Regions from separate parts of the Homo sapiens genome. Here region 1 is linked to region 2. Evidence: promoter capture Hi-C in 16 types of primary human blood cells and fetal thymus (Javierre and others, 2016). All regions are on one chromosome and are shown on one strand. Each heading gives the region's core, a stretch centred on a gene start or on the middle of the fragment in contact. The rest is flanking DNA. Distances are from core to core; before and after follow the strand shown.

What was found. The method cuts DNA at HindIII sites, captures the fragments that hold promoters and counts their contacts. A CHiCAGO score of 5 or more calls a contact.
Region 1: a contact is called between a fragment that was not itself captured here and the fragment with the promoter of HDX in region 2, in 1 of 17 cell types (monocytes). The highest score is 5.6, in monocytes.

What each region holds. Positions count from the first base shown.
Region 1 is chrX:84,429,645-84,435,897 of GRCh38, forward strand. All of the region lies in intron 5 of HDX (highly divergent homeobox), which reads right to left. Among named protein-coding and RNA genes, the nearest start is that of HDX, 70 kb to the right of the region's middle. The HindIII fragment of the contact is 9,455 bases long and covers 1-6,253 here.
Region 2 is chrX:84,499,147-84,505,802 of GRCh38, forward strand. HDX (highly divergent homeobox) reads right to left here and starts at 3,307. Exons shown (of 11, transcript NM_001177479.2): 1 at 3,196-3,307. RefSeq lists a silencer at 3,331-3,480. The HindIII fragment of the contact is 2,765 bases long and covers 1,096-3,860 here.

The DNA.
Region 1 (6,253 bases), core at 2,458-4,957, 69 kb before region 2:
CTAGATTGGATACCTTACATTTTTCTTGCCTTACTGCATTGTCTAGAACCTCCAGTAAAATATTGAATATAAATTGTAAAAGGGGACATCCATGACTTTTACTTGACCTTAGTGGGGAGGTATTCACTCTTTCACCACTAAGTATAACGTTAAGTACATGGTTTTTATACATACATTCTACAAAGTTGAGAAAGGTCCATTTTTTTTGCAATGGAAAGGACAATTTTTTAAAAAAACTAGCTGTATATTTAAATAGACAAATAATAATTGCACATATTTGTGGGGTACATAGCTATGTTTTGATACATTTCATGTATAGTGATCAGATCAGTGTTATTATCATATCCATCCTCTCAAATATTTATCACTTATTTGTTTTGGGAACATTCAGTATCCTTCTTTTAGCTATTTGATACTAATAACTAATTTTTAACCATAGTCATCCTACAGTGGTATAGAACACTAGAGCTTAGTCTTATTTAGCTGTAATTTTGTCTCCTTTAACAAATCTCTTCATATCATCCCTTTCGCTTTACTATTTCCAGCCTCTAATATCTTCTGTACTACTTTGGCTTCTATGAGATTACTTTTTTTAGCTTTCAAATATGAGTGAGAACATGTGGTGTTTAACTTTCTGTTCCTGACTTATTTTATTTAAAATAATGTCTTATAGTTCCATCAATGTTGATATGAATGACAGAATTTAATTCTTTCTTATGGTTGAATAGTATTCAATTGTGTATATATACCACATTTTCTTTATCCATTCATCTGTTGTTGTACACCTAAGTTGACTCCATATCTTGGCTATTGTGAATTAGTGCTGCAATAAACATATTGGTGCAGATGTCTCTTCTATGAAATGATTTATTTTCCTTTGGATAACTACCCAGTAGTGGAATCGCTGGATCATATAGTAGTTTTACTCATATTTCTTTGAGTAACCTCCAGCTGTTCTCCATAGTGGTTGTACTAGTTTAAATTCCCACCAACAATTTATAAGAGAGATCTTTTCTCTGCATCCTCGCCAGTATTTGTGATTTTTTTTTTGGTCTCTTTGATAATTGTCATCCTAATAAAGTAAGGTGTTAATACATTGTGGTTTTGATTAGTATTTTCCTCATGATTAGTAATGTTGAACATTTTTTCATATACTTGTTGATGATTTCTTTCTTTCTCCCTCTTTCTTTCTTCTCTTTTTCTCTCTTTTTTTTAAATTTAACAAGTTTACACTTTTATTTTAGGTTAAGAATACGTGTGCACATTTGCTATTTAGGTAAGTTGCATATCACAGGGGTTTAGAGTACAGATTATTTTGTCACTCAGCGATAAGCATAGTATATGATAGGTAGATTTTTTATCCTCACCTTCCTCCCACCTTCCACCTTCAAGTAGGTACTATTGTCTGTTATCCCTTCTTTTTGTCCATATGTACTTGATGTTTAGTTTTCACTTGTAAGTGAGGCCATGTGGTATTTTGTTTTCTGTTCCTGTGTTAGTTCGCTTAGGGTAATGGCCTCCAGCTCCATCCATATTGCCTTTTTTTTTATGGCCACGTAGCATTTGATGGTGTATATGTACCACATTTTTAAATTTAGTCAACCATTGATGGGCACTTATGGTTGATTTCATGTCTTTGCTATTGTGAATAGTGCTGTGATGAACATACACATGCATGTGTCTTTATAGTAGAATGATGTACATTCCTTTGGGTATATACTAAATAATGAGATTGCTGAGTCAAATGGTAATTCTGTTTTAAGTTCGTTTAGAAATCGCCAAAGTGCTTTCCACAATGGCTGCACTAATAGACATTCCTACTAGCAGTGTATAAGTGTTCCCTTTTCTACACAACCTCTCCAGCATCTCTTATGTTTTGATTTTTAAATAATAGCTATTCTGACTAGTGTGAGATATCTTGTTGTGATTTTGATTTGCATTTCTCTAATGATTATGAGCATTTTCATATGCATTTTAGCTATTTGTATATATTCTTTTGAAAGTGACTGTTCATGTTCTTTGCCCACTTTTTAATGGGGTTGTTTTTTGCCTATAAACTTGTTTAAGTTCCTTATAGTTTCTTGACATTTAGATCTCTGTTGGATACATAGTTTACAAATATTTTCTCCCATTCTGTAGGTTGTCTGTTTACTCTGTTGAAAGTTCCTTTTGCTGTGCAGAAGCTCTTCAGTTTAATTTGGTCCCATTTGTTAATTTTTGGTTTTATTACTCTTGATTTTGGCATTTTCATCATGAAGTCTTTGCTCAGTCCTATGTACAGAATATTTCCTATGCTATCTTTCAGGGTTTTTATAGTTATAGGTTTTATATGTAAGTGTTTAATCCATCTTGAGTCGATTTTTTTTATATTGTATAAGAAAGGATTCCAGTTTCAATCTTCTACATGTGACTAGTCAGTTATTCTAGCATCATCTATTGAATATGGAATCTTTTTCTCATGGCTTGTTTTTGCCAACTTTGTCAAAGATCAGATGGTTGTAGGTATGCAACATTATTTCCGGGCTCTCTATTCTGTTCCATTGGTCTATGTGTCTGTTTTTGTACCAATACCATGACAGTTTGCTTATTGTAGTCTTCTAGTATAGTTTCAAGTCAAGTAATGTGATGCCTCTGGCTTAGTTATTTTTGCTCAGGATTGCTTTGGCTATTTGGGATCATTTTTGGTTCCATACAAATGTTTAAACAGATTTTTCTAATTCTGTGAAGAATGTCATAGGTTTGATCAGAATAGCATTGAATCTGTGGATTGCTTTGGGCAGGTGGCCATTTTGACAATATGGATTCTTCCTATCCATGAACATAGAATGTTTTTCCATTTATTTGTGTCATCTTTGATTTCCTACAGCTGTGTTTTGTAATTCTCATTGTAGAGATATTTCACCCCTCTTGTTAGCTGTATTCTTAGGTTTTTTTTGTGGTTAATGTGAATGGGATTGTGTTCCTGATTTGGCTCTCAGCTTGGATGTTGTTTTTGTATAGAAATGTTATTGATTTTTGTACACTGCTTTTGTATCTTGTATTCTGCTTACATTATTTATCAGATAAAGGAGCTTTTGGGCAGAGACTATGGGGTTCTTTAGGTATAGAACCATATCATCTGCAAACAGAGATAGTTTGACTTTCTCTCTTCCTACTTGGATGGTTTTTATTTCTTTCTCTTTCCTGATTGCTCTGGCCAGGACTTCCAGCACTATGTTGAATAGGAGTGGTGGGAGGGGGCATTCTTGTGTTGCTCTGGGTTTCAAGGGGAATGCTTCCAGCTTTTGCCCAATCAGTATAATGTCAGCATACCTGTTGGCCATTTTTTTGTCTTCTTTGAGAAATATCTTTTCAGGTTACTTATTTCTTTAAAAATTTGATTTTTTTTCTGTTGAGATGTTGCAGTTTTTAAAAATATTCTGGATCTTAATCTGCTGTTGGGTGAGCAGTTCACAGATATTTTTCCCATTCTTTAGGTTGACCTTTAACTCTGTTGTTTGCTTTGCTATGCAGAGACGTTTTAGTTTGATACAATCCGATTTATTTTTTCTCTTGTTGCCTGTGCCTTTGAGGTCTTATTGATAAAATGTTTTCCTGACCTGCTGTTTGTTCTATTTGTTGGGAAAATGTCCTGAAGCACACTACCTATGTTTCTTTCTAGTAGCTTTGTAGCTTGAGGTCTCTCATTTAGGTATTTGATCCATTTGTAGTTGATTTTTATTTTTTGTGTGAGAGGAGGTCTAATTTCATTCTTCTGCTGGTGAATATCCAGTTTTTCCATCACCATTTATAGAAGGCTTTCTTCTCCCAGCGAGTGCTCTTGGCACCTTTGTCAAAAATCATCTGGCTGTAAGTACGTGAATTAATTTATATGTTCTCTCCTCTGTTTTATGGTTCTATGTGTTCGTTTTTATATCAAAACCATACTTTTGTGGTGACTACAGCTTTGTAGCATATTTTGACGTTTGGTAGTGTGATGCCTCCTGCATTGTTCTTTTTACTCAGTATTGCTTTGGCTATTCTGGCTCTTCCTTGGTTCCATATAAATTTTAGGATTATTTTTTCTATTTCCATAAAACATTTCATTGGTACTTTGATAAATATTTTATTGAATCTGTAGATTCCTGTGGGCCGTATAGTCATTTTAATGATATTAATTCTTCCAGTCCATGAGCTTGGAATGTGTTTCTATTTATTTGTGTATCCTTCAATTCCTTTCATCAATGTTTTGTTTTTTTTAATTGCAGTTCTTTCAACTCCTTGGTTAAATTTATTTCAAGGCATTTTATTTCTTTCAGTTTTTGTAAATAGCATTGTCTTCTTGATTTAATTCTCATCCTGTTTGTTGTTTACGCATAAAAATGCTACTGAATATGTATGTTGATGTTGTATCCTGCAACTTTACTGAATTTGCTTACCAGTTTTAAGAGTTTTGTGTTTGAGTCTTTAAGTTTTTCTATGTATGAGATTACATTGTCTGTTAAAAAAGGATAATTTTAATTTGTCCTTTCCAATTTGGATGCCTTTTTTTTTAATCTTACCTAATCACCGTGGCCAAGACTTTTAGTACTATGCTGAATAGAATTGATAAAAGTGGGAATCTTTGTTTTTTTCCAATTCTTAGAAGAAAGGCTTTCACCCTTTTTCCATTCAGTATTATTTAGGCTGTGAATTTTTCATATATGACCTTTGTTGTGTTGAAGTATTTTCTTCTATATTTAATTTATCAAGAATTCAAATAAATAATGGATGCTGAATTTTATCAAATGCTTTTTCTGCATCTATTGAGATAATGTTTTTTTCTTCATTCTATTCATGTGATGTAACATATTTACTGATTGTGTATGTTAAACCATTCTTGCTTTCCTGGGATAAATCTCATTTGATCATGGCATATTTTTTGATATATTATTGGATTAATTTTGCTAGTTTTTTATTGAGGATTTTTGTATCTATGTTCTTCAGTGATATTGGCCTGTTGTTTTCTTTTTCGGTTGTATCATTTTATGCTTTTGGTATCAGGGTTATGCTGGCCACATAGAATATGATAGGAAGAGTTATCTCCACTTCGATGTTTTGGTATAGTTTGAGAATAACTGGTAATAATTCTTCTTTAAAGGTGTGGTAGAATTCAGTGATGAAGCCATTCAATCCTGGACTTTTATTTTTTGGAAAACTTTTTATTATTAACTGAATCTCATTATTTTTATTTGTCCCTTCAGATTTTCTTTACCTTCTTGGTTCAATGTTAGTAAGTCATATGTATCCAGAAATTTATTCATTTCTTTCAGGTTTTCTAATTTTTAGGCATGTTGCTGTTCATAGTAGTTTTAATGATCCTTTTTATTTGTTTGGTATCCAGTATGACATCTCCTTTTGCATTTCTGATTTTATTTCCTTGGGTCTTCTCTATTTCTTTCTTAGTCTAGTTAAGGATTTGTCAATTTTGCTTATCTTTTCAGAAAACTTTTTGTTTCATTGATATTTTATATATTTTTTAGTTTCCATTTCATTTAGTTCTCTGATCTTTATTATTTCTTTCCTTCTACTAATTTTGGATCTGGCTTGTTCTTGATTTTCTACTTACTTAAGAAAAATGCTTGCCATTCTAACTGGTGTGAGATGATATCTCATAGTGGTTTTGATTTGCATTTCTCTGATGGCCAGTGATCATGACCATTTTTTCATGTGTTTTTTGGCTGCATAAATGTCTTCTTTTGAGAAATGTCTGTTCATGTCCTTTGCCCACTTTTTGATGGGGTTGTTTGTTTTTTTCTTGTAAATTTGTTGGAGTTCATTGTAGATTCTGGATATTAGCCCTTTGTCAGATGAGTAGGTTGCGAAAATTTTCTCCCACGTTGTAGGTTGCCTGTTCACTCTGATGGTAGTTTCTTTTGCTATGCAGAAGCTCTTTAGTTTAATTAGATCCCATTTGTCAATTTTGGCTTTTGTTGCCATTGCTTTTGGTGTTTTGGACATGAAGTCCTTGCCCACGCCTATGTCCTGAATGGTAATGCCTAGGTTTTCTTCTAGGGTTTTTATGGTTTTAGGTCTAACGTTTAAATCTTTAATCCATCTTGAATTGATTTTTGTATAAGGTGTAAGGAAGGGATCATTAAAAAGTCAGGAAACAACAGGTGCTGGAGAGGATGTGGAGAAATAGGAACACTTTTACACTGTTGGTGGGACTGTAAACTAGTTCAACCATTGTGGAAGTCAGTGTGGCGATTCCTCAGGGATCTAGAACTAGAAA
Region 2 (6,656 bases), core at 2,057-4,556:
TTAATAAATATTAGTGTTTATTAATGCTAGTAAAGTACCTCACTTCTTTGGGCTTCAGATTCTTTACTTGTAAAATAAGGGGATTGGCTTATCACTATAAAATCTCTCCCAACTTAAACTCTACAACTTAAATGAGAAAACCCAATGTCATCCTCCCAGATAGAAATTGTAAAACAAGCCTTAAAAAACGCATGTCACACTCAGTTTTTTTCATATTTTATTTTGGGCTCTCTAAACTTAACAGCATATTTCTAAGCACCACATTCTATCCAGAGTTGCTTAAGTTTGATCAGTTTTCTCTATTGGTCTATGTGTAAATGTCTAGGAAAGTCTCAATTACTATGAAAGCTGGCTATAAGCTAAAACAGCTTTGAGGAGTTTCATATAATATAGGTAATCAGAGAAAAGGTCAAAGGATTTTCCCTTACAATGAATAACATTCATGGTTCACTTACAATTATCTACAATAATGATGTTCTAATTTACAGGTTAAAACACCCTTCAGACTGCTTTTAATCTATGTTTCTAAGTCAAAAACTTTTATGTGATATTGGGATGGTACCTCAAAGTGAGGCAGGAGCCAAAGTGAAATATGTGAAAAACCTCTGTATGAAACCATAATCACACTGTCATTCAAGTAAAACGAGCTCTGCAGAAGAATGCAATTTGAAGCCTGAAGGATAGGAAAGTGACAACCAATATATAATAGCAATTGTAACAACCATCACAAAGGTCATCTCTGATTCAAGAGATGTACACATGAAAACTATCAGGAATAATCAATATAAGATAGCAATTGTAGATAAAATGTAATAAAAAGTGAGTAATTTGTGTATTTTTAAAGATACATGATACAATGTCACCAAAGAGAAGTATAGAACAGTGGAATACCTCTTTATTTAGTATTTTTCAAACTGAGAAGATTACAGACAGAACCTCTTCTGGGATAGTGTTCCCTCCCTTGATCTTGTTTATGAGGACATGATATATTTGAAGGCCACCCAGTAAATAGAGATCTGTGTAATTTCTTTCCTCTGACTTAAATTCAGGTTTATTTAGTCATTGGAGGGTCTCTTGCCTGACCAACGATGAATAAGCTTTCACATGTATACAGTTCTCTCTATAAAAATACTGCTTCATTTCCCAGGAAATTGTTTTCTAGGGGAAAAAAAAAGAACATATATAGCTACAGCTATTTTGATTATTCAGTTAGGTGCTATGGGCAGATAATAAAGAAATGGATGTCATGGTCCCAACCCTTAAGGAAGGGTTTAAAATCCATTTGAGGATTCCAGTCTAACACACACACACACACACACACACACAACAACAACAACAACAACAATAACAAAGGAGACAATACAAAGCAGCCTACAAGCAACTAACAAAGACAATAATTGACGTGGGAATTCTAGGAAAAGTGAGGTCAGTAACACTTGCATTAGATTAATTTGGAAGGCACTTGTGGAGGGGTGGAATTTGAGTTGAGTTTCCAAAGTGGGTAAGATGTGAATTATGTAGAAGGAGGACATCCTACGTGGAGGGGACAGTAATGGTATAAGGAGCAAAGATATAAAGGTAGATTGTTCTCACTAACTGAACATTAAAGAGAGTTGTGCCCTGAAGAATAAAGGAAAATAAGGCTCCTGCATTACAATGAGGCCAGATTATGAAGTTCTTTAAAATTCGGGTGGAATTAGGCTTGAAACAATAGAAAATAAGGGGCCAAGAATATGTTGGTTAAAGAAAGTGATTTGTTGAAAGAAGTGTTCACAGACCACTAAGGATTTGGGGCACAGGTGAAGACTGCCTAGGAAGCTCCTACAGTGACTACATGGGTGCTGATGAGAATTTAGATTGTAAAGGAGGAACGTGTGAGAAGGCTTTCAAAGGAAAATTTACCAGTACTTGATAATCCCTTAACTATGAGAAATAGAGAAAAATCCAGATTCCTCTGTAAAATTGTCAGGAGTCTATGATCAGACTGTGGAGGGCAATTAATAACAATACTGTACAATCTATTCATCAATAATAGACAGGCAGGTTGTTCTTCATTGTTCCCCACAACTGCTGAGTAATAAAAGCCTTAATATAAGTAATATAACAGCCTTCCCAATGAAGGGGTGCGGGAAAGGGCTTCTCAAAATAATATTTGACTTCAGTGATTCTAGCAGAGACACAGAGGAAGAAGATGGACTCAGCACCAAACTTGATATGGAGACTAAATATTTATAAGAGATTGTCCCAAGAAGAGAAAAAGGCAAGAAAGGAAAATTTCTTACTCTGAGCCTCCACAATGGACTTCATTCTGAGTCTTTCCAAAGAATTTAAGGTTCAAAATCATTGTCACCTCAAATCAGAGCTCCTTTAAGATTAAAAGTTAGATTCATTTGAATAATTAGTGTTTATTTTTCCAAACAGTTTCTTATCTGATAAACTTCTATTTCACAAATTCTTCTAGAGTTCATTCCGTTATTCAACATCTAATATCTGGAAATTTAGAATGTGCCTTCTCAAATTTATAAGGCTCATTTTGAAGCTGGATTTACTCAGTAGGCCAGTTTAAACTAAATGGCAGATCTCTCCCCATCAACTGGTGCTTGAAACATCACAAGGCCTGGGATGTTCCCTGGGTCTCTACTTTCCAAATTCAGCACAGAAATGGCTCAGCCCCACCTCTTCCAGTGAAACCGAAACAGCGCCTGTGCAAACTCCACGCCTATTCTCCTCACAGTGACCCACCCCGCCCCCACCAAGGTGCTAATGCGCAGGCGCTACGCTCTCAGTGCCTTTGAGTAGGGCTGTGAGAAATCTACTGTCCAGTGAAATCTAGAAGTGGTAGAATTCAATCCCCTCCTTTCTTCGGAGGCAGAGGCGCCACTTCCTCCTACTACCCGTCCAGAAGCGCGTCCCAAACATCGCTCTCTCTCCGAGCAAGGTCCTTCGCTCTCTGGCAATCCCCATTGTATCCCTATCCGCAGCTCGTTTCTAATCTCACTCAGCCGCCAGCCTTCGCTAGGAGGATAGAGGCACTTGGCTCCCTAGGATCCGCACCAGTTTTTTGTCTGCCTGTTTAGGCCACGGAACCTATGGACCCCCCCACCCCCAACCTCGCCCCAAACTAGGAAAAGCATTATCCCGGTGCTTTGCCCTCCCTCCTTCGCCCTTCTCACCCACTTAGTGTTGAGTGCTTACCTCGGGTGTGGTGCGGTTACGAAAGGAATCAGCGGAACCCAGATCAGGCCGCTGCTGGGGCAGGCGGATTCAGCGAGATTTTTCCTGGGTCTCCAGTGCCGCTTCAGACAATGAAATCAGCGTGTCCGATCATCAATTCTCATCATGATCGTGACGTCACAAAAGACAGCGGCCAATGGGAGCCTGCGATCAGCTCAGGACAGTCCCTGGCCTCAGCCCAGAACCCAAGAGTTGGGAGGGGGGAAGAGAGATGGCTGCCTGCAACTGGACTGCCTCTTCCTCACACAAATCAGCTACATCTACGGCCAGGGCTCTCTATACCTTCCTGAATAGCTGTGAACACCGAGCATCCCTGTGACTATAGTAGTTACATGCCAGCCATTTGAGCAGGTGCTGCCTGGCCTTCCAACTTGACATTGGGTTTTAACAAAATTGTTACATGCTGCCAAAATCAAATGATAGCATAAGGAAATACAGTCCTTTGTGGTCAGTGTTCGATTGACAGGTAAATATTCAGTTTTACTAAAATCAATAAGGTGTCCATCGAGCCTTTAGAATTTTACAGTAAAAGCAAGTGTACTATTATACGTGACTGGTTGGCTCTGATGACTGAGGAAAGAAACTATGGTTTTTATTCATCCAACCTCAATTCCTATTCTGGCAGAAGCTTCTTGGGTGATCACCATTATACCATTCCAGAAAAGAAGTCAAGCCACATGTTACATCATTTAACAGTCACTTGATATACTTCCCAGATTTGCTGGATGCCATGAGAGATATAGAATTCATTGATTCTCTGCTATCATAGAACTTGCAACATCGTTTGGAAGACAAGATTAGCACACAGTAAATATTCACAACAATAAAATAAAGTACATGATCATGTGCTCAGTCATTAACTACAGACAAGAGCTACATTATTTAATTATTGGAGACATCAGTGAGGTGAAAAGTCAGGGAAGCATTTTATGTAATTAAAACTTGAGATGGTTCTTGAATGGTGGATAAGAGCAGATGGAAGTCACCGTCTTAAAGGGGAAAGATAGGCAAAGGTAGAGACGTATAAATTCATATGATGTGAGGAAGCCCATGATGAAATCAGCTTGACAAATAGAGGGCATATGCTGAGGACTAGTGGTAGATGGAATTGGCTAATAATAAAAGCCTTTGAAAATAGGCAGATAACTTTTATTTGATTAAAAGCCACCAAAAGCCATAAAGCATGTGACCTCAATCCTCTATAGTCAATTATCTACAGAGGAGTTTAGGTGATTTTTTAAAACAAAAGCCAGATTATGCTCAACTTCAGATTGTTCAATGGTTTCCTTTCACATATACAATAAAATGCAGATTTCTTACCATGTCCTCAAAGCCCTAAATGATCTGGCCTCCGCCATCTTTCTGACCTCACCTCCTGTCACTCAGCCACTAATTCACAAATATATTAATCTTCTATTTCTCAAACAAGTCAAGCTCATGTCCACAGCAGTGACCCTGTACTGTTGTACTGTCTGATCTTTATATGACTTACTCCATCACTTGATTGAAATCTTTGCTCAAATGCAACCTCTTTAAAGAGGTTTTCCTATTTAAAATTGTGATATCCTTAACACTCTCTATACCCTTTTTTCTGTTTCATTTTTCTTCATAGTATTTATTATTATTAAATGTATTTTATATATTTAGTTATTGCAAATGTAAGCTCTATGAAGGCAGGGATTTTTGTCTGTTTTGTTTATTATTATATCCCTCAAATCTAGAAAGCCTCTAAATACAAAGTAGACAAATAAGTAAGTACGTATTGAATGAATGACTGAAAGCACATTTTTCAAGTCATTAATTTGCATTTTCAGTAACATTGCGATAGGCTGGAGTGAGAGAGACCAGTTAGACAGTTGTAATGCTAACCCAGCTTCTAGGTGACACACCCCTAGATTAGGGTGTTAAAAATGATGAAATATGAGACTTTCAAAGAAGGAATTATATGGGTAAAGTGGAGGATTCAGAAAAAGCCTATTGATAATTGATTAACGTATTCATAAATTACGTTTATGAATTACCTGAAACTGAAGTGATATGAGAAAAAGGATCAGAGTCCCTACCCTTGAAGGGTTTATAATGCAAAGACACAAGAAGACTTGTATGAAATCACAGTACAAATAGAGGCAATTAAATTAATCCAATTTTTCCTTCCTCTTTTCCCCTCTCACTCTGTAGCTAAGCCACTAGTATGTTTGAAGACTGTACCTTCAAATTAGGCCCCAAATCTGAATACTCTGTACCTCCTCTATCACCGTTACACTAAAGTCACTGTAACTTCTAGTTTGAAATACTGCAAAAGCATCTTACATCGTTTATTTTCTTCCACTCTTGTCCTTCTTCAAAAGTTTCTCTTAACATCAGTCAAAATATTCTTTATAAAGTTTGAATCAGACCATATCACTACCTGATTTAAAGCCCTCCAAATGCATCTCATTACATTAACAATAAAGTCCCAAGTCCTTTCTATGGTGTATTTCCCACCATTTGTTCCTGCCCTGGCTCATTATGCTGTAGCTACTCTGGTCTTTTTGGTTATCTGTTTTCTCTCTGGAATGCCTATTTCCTCTTCAGAGACTTTGCATTTGCTATTATTTCTTGGGAAACTCTTTCCCCAGATCTTCACATAGCATACTTCACATAATTCAGGCTGTCTGCTAAAATGTTACCTTCTCAGATGGGACTTCATGGACCAATCAATTTAAAATAGCATTGCCCCACCACCACCACAATTATCTGTCTCCTGTATCTTCTTGCTGTGCTTAATTTTTCTCATATCACTATGGAAAAATACATTATTAGTTTTGTTGGTTAGTTATTTTGCCTTTCCCCAACAGAATGAAAAGTTCAAGGGGGTAGGAAGTTGCCTCTCTTATTACTGTTATATCTCCAGTACCTAGAGTTGTAGTGGTACCTAGCATTAAGTAGGCACTCAATGGGTCTTTGTTGAATGAATAGATAGGGGAGAGCATAGATTGTGTAGTGCAGTAATAGGTATTCAGGGATGAGAGATGTTTTCAATACATGCCTAAGATACCGGTACCTGTCCTGTTCACAATATATCAATTAAAAGCATGTTTATTGAACTTGTAAGTAAAAAGTATCTAAGTAGAATAATTAAACCATGGATATTAACCAAGATTTCAAAGATCTCAAAAGACTCAACAAACAAATGCAATAAAATGAAGTTTGACATGGATAAACAGTAAGTCTTGATTCTAGGTTTACAAAAATCAGTTGCATAAGTACAGGAAGGGCAATAAACACCTAAGTTGGGAAGTTCATCTAAAAATTCTGTAAATTCAATATGAACTGGTATAACAAAGCTGTTAAACAAGATAATTCATACTTAAACTACATTAATAAAAAGTTATTATCTGAATCAAGAGAGTTAAGGGTTCTACTAGTCTCTACCCTAGTCA